Linked DNA regions of Homo sapiens: region 1 is linked to region 2. Evidence: promoter capture Hi-C in 16 types of primary human blood cells and fetal thymus (Javierre and others, 2016). All regions are on one chromosome and are shown on one strand. Each heading gives the region's core, a stretch centred on a gene start or on the middle of the fragment in contact. The rest is flanking DNA. Distances are from core to core; before and after follow the strand shown.

Region 1 (5,226 bases), core at 251-2,750, 560 kb before region 2:
CTCACCTTCCTTCCAGGTTCCTGATCCACAGCTCAGCCTCAATTGCAGTGCTCAAGAGCCCCCTGTGCACTTCTTAGGTGCACTTCCTTTTCACCCAGGGGCCAGTCACCTGCTTCTGCCTCTCCAAACCTTCAAGTCCCTGGAGGTCCATCTCACCTGTCACCTCCTGTGATGCCCTCTGGACCCTCTCATCAGAAACCAGGCCTCTGGACACCCACGGCACCTTGCCTGCTCCTCCGTGTGGACGCCTTTTCTTCCACTTGGCTGACTCCTTGGAAGCCAGGTGAGGTACCTGATGTGCTGACCTGGTTCTCTTTGGCTGAGCTCCATTCCCTCTCCTTCATGAGCTTCTCTCACTCCTCTCACCTCCGACGACTTCTCTTCTTCTCCCTCTGGCCTCATCTGGTCCTAAGAGTCAGCCCAGAACTTTAGGCCTTGGCCTGGTGCCCCAGCTATAGATAATCTCTTCTTCCCCGCTCCCGATAGGCACCTCTTTCACAACTGTGGGCTATTGGTCTTGTATAGTCCTGGCCCCCTGGCTACCCTGCACTCTCTTGGAGGAAAGAAGCCAGTAGGCAACCCCTCCCCTATCCCAGGCTCCCCAGCGCTTGGTGAGCCAAGGTTGCCTCATTCCATCTGCTACAAGCTTCCCTCCGTTTACAGGTAAGGACACTGTGGGTCAGAGGGGTTTAGGAGTTTGCACGAAGCCACCGACCTAGTTCCCCTTGCGGGCCCAGCACAGCTCTGAGAACAGAAGAGGAGGCACCTTGGCTAATTGCAAGCCTTTAAAAGTCTTAGAGCACTGAGCCAAAGCCCAGGCTTCTCACAAAGTCTCTTTATGAGAGACAGACGGCCTGGGGTCGGGCTCTCTCCTCCCTCCCCGCTGGCCTTCGCCAGATGGGAAAAAAGCCACCACATAGAAACATAACCTTTATTGCACACGGCGCTGGGTCTTTTTTCATAGAAAAAGGTATTAACACATAAGCATCTGCAAATTGAAGCAACTCCTGGTTTTCTTGGAACAGTAAAATCGCATGCAGTGTCTCTGAGTTGGGATTTTGGTCTTTGTCAAAACCACCTAGACTGGGGGGAAGGTGAGGAGGAGGGAAAAAAATTGCTGAGTCTTTGTGCCTCTGTCTCAAAATAGGGTGAGAGAAATATATAGATATATAGCTCGTGGACGCGTTCCTGTCTGTCTATATATGTATATATATCTCCACACATATTTTGTGGGGTGGGGGATTTGACTTGTACTGTCAAATTCTTTGTGCCCTGGCTTCATGGAGAAGAAGAAAATAGTTTCATTTGTACAAAAGAGTTCTATGTACAGGCGTTCATGATTGGGGGTTTTTGTTTTGTCGTTGGTTGGTTTTTGTCTGTCAGTTGAATATAAATAATGCAGAAAAACAGCCGAGCTGGCGTGTGGGGCTGCGGCGCGGCGCGGTCCAGGCGTGGCTGCTCTTCCTGCGGGCCCTACACCAGGGTGTAGGATTTGGAGTAGGCCCCGGCCCCCTGCTTCTGAGACCTCCCTACCCCCGATGTGCTCATCTCGAGAAGCGAGTCCCTGGAGCCCCCCATTTTGGTGTGTGGGCCCCCGGCTCGTGGAGGCTCGGTGCTGGGGGCCGGAGGGGCAGCGCTGGGGGCGGTGGGTGGCTCAGCAGGGGTGGGGCCGGGGGCTGGGGGGGCTGTGCCGGCTGGGGGGGCTGGCATGGCCAGAGTCCTCTGAGGTAAGGTGGCTGTGGAGGCGGCAGCGGGGGCCCCTGGGTGGGGAAGGCCCAAGGACTTGCTGGCAGGGTCCAGGGTCAGGTGGCGAGCCTGGGTGTGGTAGGTTCGAGCCAGGTTCCGGATGGAGGCCTCACGGGGTGGGACCACGGGGCAGGGCTCACGTCCATCTGCCTTTCGAAAGAAGGCCTCTGACTTGGCATACAGGGGCAGGTTGCAGTAGTCACCTGGAATCACAGAGGCAGAGGATGTTACAGAGAGTCATAGCCCTCTGGAAGCAGCTCGTTCAGCCCCCACCCCATCCCCTGCCCCCAGTCTTCTCTCTGATTTGGCATAGGGGCCCCTCCACTGGGGGGCAATAAAGAGTAGCGGAAAGGTCGGGTACTTGGCCCTTCTGAGCCTTCGTTTCCTTATCTGTGAAGTGGGGATGATCTTACTTCCCCACAGGATTATTGTGAGGAGCGAATGAGGTGAGGGAGGTAAAGTGCTTTGCTACAGTGGCTGGTGCAGATAACAGCTGCCCAGTACATGGATGCTTGTTGTTCAATGGTCACTAGAGGCTGGTCAGCTTCCGGTAGTGGAGAGCTCACTACTGCTAAGGACGAGGATGTCCTAATGGCTCTGGCTGGTGGAAAGCTTTTCTTTACCCTGAGGAGGAAAGGAATATCATTCCCTGTCGCCTCCCCACCATGGAGCCTGGTTCTGTTCTCTGAGGTCTCACAGAGTAAGGCGTTCCCCTCTTTCCCATGGCAGCCTTCCAGATGTTTGAAGTCAGCTACATGTCCCCTCTCCTCCCCCTCGGTCCCCTCTTCTCCAGGTGGAAAGTTCCTAATTTCTTTTTTTTTGAGACGGAGTCTCGCTCTGTCATCCAGGCTGGAGTGCAGTGGCATGATCTCGGCTCACTGCAACCTCCGCTTCCCGAGTAGCTGGGATTACAGGCACGTGCCACCATGCCCAGCTAATTTCTGTATTTTTTTAGTAGAGATGGGGTTTTGCCATGTTGGCCAGGCTGCTCTGGAACTCCTGATCTCAGGTGATCCGCCTGCCTTGGCCTCCCAAAGTGCTGGGATTACAGGCATGAGCCGCCGCACCCAACCTAGTTCCTTATTTCTTAAACTGCCTCCATGTGACTTGCTTCTAAGACCTCCACCGCCTGACCCCCCGTGCTCCATGGGCACCCTGCCTGCAAATGGGCCTCTTCCCCCGGGGAGCTGGGCCAGGCATTTTCCTTAGATTTTCTTATTGAATCCTCACGACAGCCCCTAGGATTGGTTAATACCTGTCTGCACTTTACAAGTGAGGAAACTGAGGTTCAGAGAGATTAAATCATTTGCCTAAATTTGCACAGCTAAAAGGGGTGGGGGTGTCATTCAGGGTCACAGTCTCCACAGTCTTTCCATTGTTCCAGGCTCTTCTTTCCATGACCCAGAAAGCCCCGCCCCCTGCCTCAATTAGCATGGCCAGTGCTAAGCAGACCAGACTGCATTGTTTGATAGTCTGGGCTTTGCACGCTGTGACCCCAGCATCTGCTGATAGACTCCCCCTGCTGATCCTAGCCCTGCCCTGCCAGCCTCTAAGGGCATATGCTCCGGCCAGGCCCGTGGGGTCAGATGGTTCCCAGCCAGGCCAGGTCACTGCCTACTGAGAGGTATGACCATGGTGGGTGGAGCTGCCAGGATTGTTTGTTTGGGTCTGGATTAAATTCAAACAGCATTGAGACCAGAGGCCCTTGGGCAGCTGACCCTGAAGGGATCTGTTTCCATCCTGGCACAGCTTCAGATTAAGGGGATGCTCACTACCGAATGAATGAGGCCTTACAACACGCTGGGGATGTATATCATTTCTAATGCCCATTATGACAATGCAAAGTAGATACTATCGTTGGCATTTTACAAATGAGAAACTTAAGGCCACAGAGGTTAAATGACTTGCCCAAGGCCACAGACATAGGAAGAGGTTAAGCCAGGATGTGGGCCCTGATCTGCCTGCTCCTAAGTCCTTGCTGTTGGTACCACCCTGCACTGCCAAGGAGCCAAGCTGGGCTGGCATGATCCTGGTGCTGGCAGAACTAGATCTAGCCAGGGCTCATGGGGCTGGGGCCAGGGGGCGGGGGGGCACTGCCTGGGAGGTGGTCTGAGCACTCACTCTTGTTGGCCCGGTGAGGGATGGGCACAGCCACGTTTTTGCCCCGGTCCGCATCCTGGGGCTTGGGTGGTGAGGCGGTAAAGCGGCAGATGCCAGGCTCTGAGGGTGTGCTCATGGATGTCATGCTGTCGGCGTTCTCGTTGGTGCCTGTGGTCATCTGGTCAGAGGAACTGTCAGAGATGAAGCACTCGGTGATCTCAAACTTGGCGTGCTGCAGCTGCTCCTCCAGCTTGGCATGCTCATAGGCCCGGGCCAGCTCCTCGTAGGTGGAAGAGGCACTCTCAGTGGACACCATGCTGTTCCTTCCTTTGTCTGGGGAGTTAAGAGGAAAGGGGTGGGTTACGGGGAGGAGGGTATAAGTGAGACTGACTGAGCACTTCCCCTGCCCGTAACCCCAGCAGCCATCTGTAAGTCTGGCCATGGAGGGCACCAGGCTGAGAAGATCCCGTGAAGGTGGCAGTGGTGGCAGAAGTAGGATCTTTGGCTCATGAAGGGCAGAACACCTTTCATTCTTGAAAATAAGCAACCATCCCCTGGAACATTCAGCCCTTTCTCCAATGAACATCATGTGTACCATTTTCTCTGACAGTTTTTGGGAAAGCAAAATTAACTCCCTGACTAAGTAGAGCTCAGTGAGGTCAAGTGTTTTTGTCCCAGCTGCACAGTGGGTCAGTGACCAGCTAGACATGAAACTGACTTGTGCCTTGGGCCCCATGAGCTGGTGGGTAGAAGCTGGGAAGAATAGAAGGTGAAGGTGAATGATGGGGAACTGGGGGGAGGTGTTCAGGATGCCAGCAGGGCCTTAGGCACACCTGTGTCCTGGGACAGGCTGGCACTGTAGCTGTCACTCTCAGTGACCGTGACACCATGCTGGGAGCCCACGGTGCGCCAGTCGGAGGTGAGGGTGCGGGCAGGTGTGGAGGCCTGGCACTTGGTCAGGGTCCACTGGCTTGAGTACCGGTTCCGGGTGCTGTGGGCTGACTTCACATTCTTCCTGGACACTGGATCTGCACAGACAGAAGCAAGAAATTGCATCCTCCAACCAAAGGCACCCAGGCTTGGGCAGCTGGCACTTACCAGAAAGGGCAGGGGGGAGCAAGGGAAGAGGCAGATGCAGCCACAGAAGCGCCCTTGGGAATGCTGCCTTTCCTAACCACATCGCTGTCCCCAGAGGAGAAGAGCAATCGAGTCAAGGTTGGGGAGGGGGCAGTGGAGGGCATTCTCCCCGCCCACCCCATCTTTTCCTTCCACCTGGGGGAGAATGTGATGTCCTTTCCTGCTGCCTCCTGACTGTCCATTCATTCCCTACAGTCCTTGATGTGTTCTATCCTATGTCCAGATACACGGTGCTAGAGATAG
Region 2 (4,734 bases), core at 1,845-4,344:
AGTGCTGGTGTCACACACCTAAGTTAGGGGCCCTTTCTCAAAAGCTGCAGTAAATAAGGCCCTCCATGTGGGCATTGGGCACTGCCAGGGAAACCTCCCAGGAGCAGGTGATAGTTACAGGAGGCAGTCAAATGCCTAGGCAGATAGGGCGGGTCCCTGGTGAAACCCCACCTCCAAGTTGAAGACAACTTAAAACCTGAAAGCCAAGCTGCAAGTTAAATCTTCAGACCAGATTGAGAACCTGTCTTCCCATTTGGCACGCTTTCCTCTGATTGATCCCCACCCTTCACCTACTTTACATACACCTACCCTTTCCTAATTGGTTTTCTACACTGTCGTACCCACCTTTGAGTGGTATTTTCACTTTAACCTTTTTTGCATACTCACAAACCAATCGGCATGCACTCCCTATTCTGAGTCCAGAAAAAGCCCTGGATCCAGCCACACTGAGAAAAAAAAACACCCAACTGTGGGAGCGGGGAACCACCCCCCTCCCCATCCCCTCTCTGCTGAGAGCTGGTCCATCACTCAATAAAATTATTCTCTGCCCATCCTCACCCTTCAACTGTCAGCGAATTCTCATTCTTCTTGAACACAGGACAAGAGCTCAGGAACAAATGAAGGTACAAACTACAATACAGGCAGGGCGGGGTATGGCCGGGTGGGTGGGGCAGCAGGCCTGGAGTGGGGCCTTGCTGGCCAGAAATGTCCTGAGCCCCTCTTCTTTGGTTTGTCTGAGAACAAGGGCAGGGCTTGAGGGATGCACACACAGTCCCAAACACACATATGCACTTGGCAAACAGACAACGTTCTCCACACCACAATGAAATCCAAATCCACAGACTGGCCACTGCAAATCATATATGACTGCAAGTGCACACACACACACACACACACACACACACACACACACACACTTTGAAGCAGGTGTCAGCCTCCAAGAAAAAGTGATGGACAGTCTGTCTCTCATATCCTCACATATTTGGTTCACCTGGAGATGGCCTCAGATGAGCCAAGTGACACAGAGGTGCGAGAGACTGAGGATGTGCTGAGGTGTTACCCAGCACTCCAGTAGTGCTATTACCCAACACAAAAATTGGTCTGAATATCAGATTTCAAGCAAGCAAGGGAAACCCAGAAGAGACTGGGAGAAGTCCTTATGGAGGCTAAAGCAACTCCATGTTGGATGCTAATCCACAGTTTTGGCCGTGTTGGCTTTGGAGCCTCCCAGAAGACCTCTGAGATTCCCAATTTATCAATTGCTCCTTGTGTAAGTGCAAACACTTACTGTAAATCCGGCCCTTAGGTCAAACAACCTTGATGTTATCATACTTCAACTGTCCTACACATCTTTTCTGAATCACCCTTCCCCTGTGGTCTATAAGCCCTGGTCCTGGGGGTGAATCATGGAGACACAAACGTAGCTTCTGTTTATAAGTCCTTATTAAATGTTTTTTTCGAAGAAACTGGATGTGTCAGCCTGTAACCTGCAAAAGGATCTGGCTGCTCTCTGCTTGTAGAAAGAATGGATAATAAAGGAAAATCTGCTAGCTGCCATGCTAGCAGGGGAAGAGCAGCAAACAATTCCACTCTTCAATTCATGGGGGGAACGCAGGGGTTTTTTAAGAAAGGATCTGAAATGCAGAAAAGGCAAGGGGGAGGTTAGGAGGTACCAGGTGGTGTGACTTGCTCCAGTGGTCCTCTTTAATTATCGTCTTATTTGGTGGAGGGGCTGGTGCAATCGTGGATCCTGCCAGGTTATAAATTAGTTACTCTTCAGCAGGGTATATGTTCAACTCCTGAAGTAAGCTTTTGTTGGAGAGAGAATTCCGGAGGTGCCTGGTCCCTATCAGGACGCAGCTCCTGAGGCATCTAAGGAAATATATGACCAGGTAAGAGCATAGCGTGTGCTTAACAAGCACGTAGGTAAATAAACGTGCGTAAGGCATGGGAGTACAGTATGGGACAGGAAAGGGAGTGGAGGTCACAGCACGTCCTGAGGCTGTGTTTTAAGATGAGAGGTAACATACATGCAGTTTGTCTCAAAATTATATCTTGAGGCCCAGAGGAGGAAGAGAAAAAAGGAAAGAAGAGAAACTAAGTTTAAAACACGGTTTAAGGCTGGGCGCGGTGGCTCACCCCTGTAATCCCAGCACTTTGGGAGGCTGAGGCGGGTGGATCACCTGAGGTCAGGAGTTCGAGACCAGCCTGGCCAACATGGTGAAACCCCGTCTCTACTAAAAATACAAAAATTAGCCCAGGCGTGGTGGCACATGCCTGTAATGCCAGCTACTCGGAAGGCTGAGGCAGGAGAATCGCTTGAACCTGGGAGACGAAGGTTGCAGTGATCCGAGATCACGCCACTGCATTCCAGCTTGGGCGACAGAGCGAGACTGTAAAAAAAAAAAATAGATAAAAAAATTTTAAAAATCGCGGTTTGAGGCTCAGCTGCTGAGCTGCTGGTTAAAAGCCTCTTTCTTGGGTCTCTCAGCTTCCTGGGACTTTGGGGGCAGGTCTGCATAAACTGCTTAGTTGTGGACCCCCCTCCAACAATTAGGTAGGGGACTACTCAGTATTCATCCATCGGTGTCCTCAGACCCCCAGACGGGGAGGCCCTGGGGCAACGCCAAGACTCACACCGGCGTCCTGGCGCCTTTGCCCTCAAGGGCCTGCAACTACCTCCTCCCCATTCGGAGCGGCCGCGGCCACATCCTTAACGCCAAGCCGGCACGCCAGGCAAAAGCGGCTCGGACGCCCTCACCCCACCTTCCGCACTCAGGGCCGAGGCTGTGCCTGGCCACCTGCTTCCCAGCACATGCACACACGCGCGCGCGCACACACCCACACACACGTACCCACGGCCGGCCGGGCTACCCGGACCACTTTGATCCGAAGGCACTGGAGGCCCAGAGGGAAGGAAAGGGAGGGGTGGCCGGAGCCCGCTAGCGCCCCAGGACAGCCTCGGGTTGCCCCAGGCGGTAGCCCTGTGGGACAGTGGTTCCCCGTCCGCGGCCTCGGGGGCGGGGCGTCTGTAGGCCTCGCCCCGCTGACGTCAGCCCTGCGGGGCGCTGGCGGAGCGGGCGGCGGAGCTGTCAGTCCCAGCCCAAGGGTAGCTGGAGGCGCGCAGGCCGGCTCCGCTCCGGCCCCGGACGATGCGGCGCGCCCAGGATGCTGCCGTGCCTCGTAGTGCTGCTGGCGGCGCTCCTCAGCCTCCGTCTTGGCTCAGACGCTCATGGTAAGGCTCCGGGACGCGGCCCTTCCCTGCCCTGCCCTCTCCGCGCCCGCTCCATTAAAGTTCTCCATCCAGTGGAGAGCCCTGGCTGGCTGGCCCTCTGGCAGAGCGGTGCCCGGGTGCTCCCTTACTCTGGCAAACCTGGATCTCAGGCTCACCTGTTGTGGAAGTGGAAGAGGCTGAAATTGACAGGAACTGACGGATTGGGAAGGATAGAGAAGTATGCGCAAGGCCAAACCCCCAACCCGCAAACCTCATCATCCACCCACTTCTAGATGAGCCGTAAGTTTAGCTCTAGGTTTTTTGCTGTTTAGGTTCAAATGATGGGACTTCTTGTCCCCTTGGGGAATAATTTTGATCTCCTGACTCTCCCTTCTCTTAGTCGACTCTTCAACTAACCTCTGTCTGTCCTTCTCCCATCTCACCTTCATCCCTCACTGATCACCCCGATCTGATCCCCCTTGCTCCACCTGTAGCCCCCAACTCACTCCCACTGCCCCCTGCCTCTCTCCTCCTAACCCAGCCAGTTCAGGCTTCTAACCCAGTTCAGGCTCCTAACCCAGACAGTTCTCCGGCAAGGTTTCTGCAACTAAGAAAAGTAAACCCCAGAGACAGAATGAAAGAGCCGGGAGTTGGAAGGACCAAGAGCAGAGACAGAGAGCAAGGACCGAAACTGCTTCTTCATGACACCAAAATACAAAGTAAAACATGCAGTCAGCCATTCACGTGATCGAGAGCTGAGTCGGAGATGTGCAGCCCAAATACCACAACGACTCGCTGCATTTTTCACTTTCCGTCTAATGTTTCGAAATCAAGGCACTGACGTGAAGATCAAAGACGGTATAAGAAAGAAAGCAAGAGACAGATGACAGAGTCCTCCCCCCCAAAAAATAAATAAAAAACAGGTGCATGATTAGAGAGATGTAGAGAAGTTAGAACACTAGGGAGCGGGAGCAGAGTCGCTGTCAAATGGAGAGAACTTAGAGGATCAAGGAGGAGAGAAAGGGAACCAACCAGCCGTTGGCCTTGCACATACTTCAGTCTGCTTGATCAACAAGACTCTTAAAGTAGAAATGTTTGTTGCATTCTTACAAAGAAGACAATGCCTTCAGCAGTGTTTCCCATGGTGAATGGTGTGTACTGGGGGTAAAGGGAGAGTAGAGCTAGGAATTGGTATTGAGTATCTCTCCTCGGAGCTACAGGTGCCAGCTCTTGTGGGGATGTCCTCAGCCATGTGTAGAGCCAGAGCTGATTTATTCCATCTGTCCTTGCCCAGCCAGAGGTTGGACATCTGGCTATAGGCAAAGCCCTCCCAGAAACTAGGGAATGAGGCAAGCACTTAGCTTGGGGAGCCCAGGAGACCTATGAAGAGAAGGAGGCAGATGTCAGCAAGCAGGCTGTCTGTGTACTTAGTGAGGTGGCTTTGAGCTGGAGCCTGGGCCAAGCCAGGGTGGGGATCAGGTGTGTGGATGGGGCCAAGCCTAGGAATAGTGCTAGAGCAG

Evidence for each region. The method cuts DNA at HindIII sites, captures the fragments that hold promoters and counts their contacts. A CHiCAGO score of 5 or more calls a contact.
Region 1: a fragment that was not itself captured here is called in contact with the fragment with the promoter of IL10RA in region 2 in 1 of 17 cell types (endothelial precursors); the score reaches 5.6 in endothelial precursors.

What each region holds. Positions count from the first base shown.
Region 1 is chr11:117,426,855-117,432,080 of GRCh38, forward strand. It overlaps DSCAML1 (DS cell adhesion molecule like 1), which reads right to left. Exons shown (of 33, transcript NM_020693.4): 31 at 4,680-4,874; 32 at 3,868-4,179; 33 at 918-1,949. The coding sequence ends at 1,474. Among named protein-coding and RNA genes, the nearest start is that of CEP164, 100 kb to the left of the region's middle. RefSeq lists enhancers at 2,554-3,232, 3,233-3,910, 3,911-4,588. The HindIII fragment of the contact is 1,712 bases long and covers 645-2,356 here.
Region 2 is chr11:117,983,300-117,988,033 of GRCh38, forward strand. IL10RA (interleukin 10 receptor subunit alpha) reads left to right here and starts at 3,095. Exons shown (of 7, transcript NM_001558.4): 1 at 3,095-3,235. The coding sequence starts at 3,169. RefSeq lists enhancers at 2,523-2,582, 3,973-4,272 and silencers at 2,773-2,872, 2,893-3,172. The HindIII fragment of the contact is 8,039 bases long and covers 1,808-4,734 here.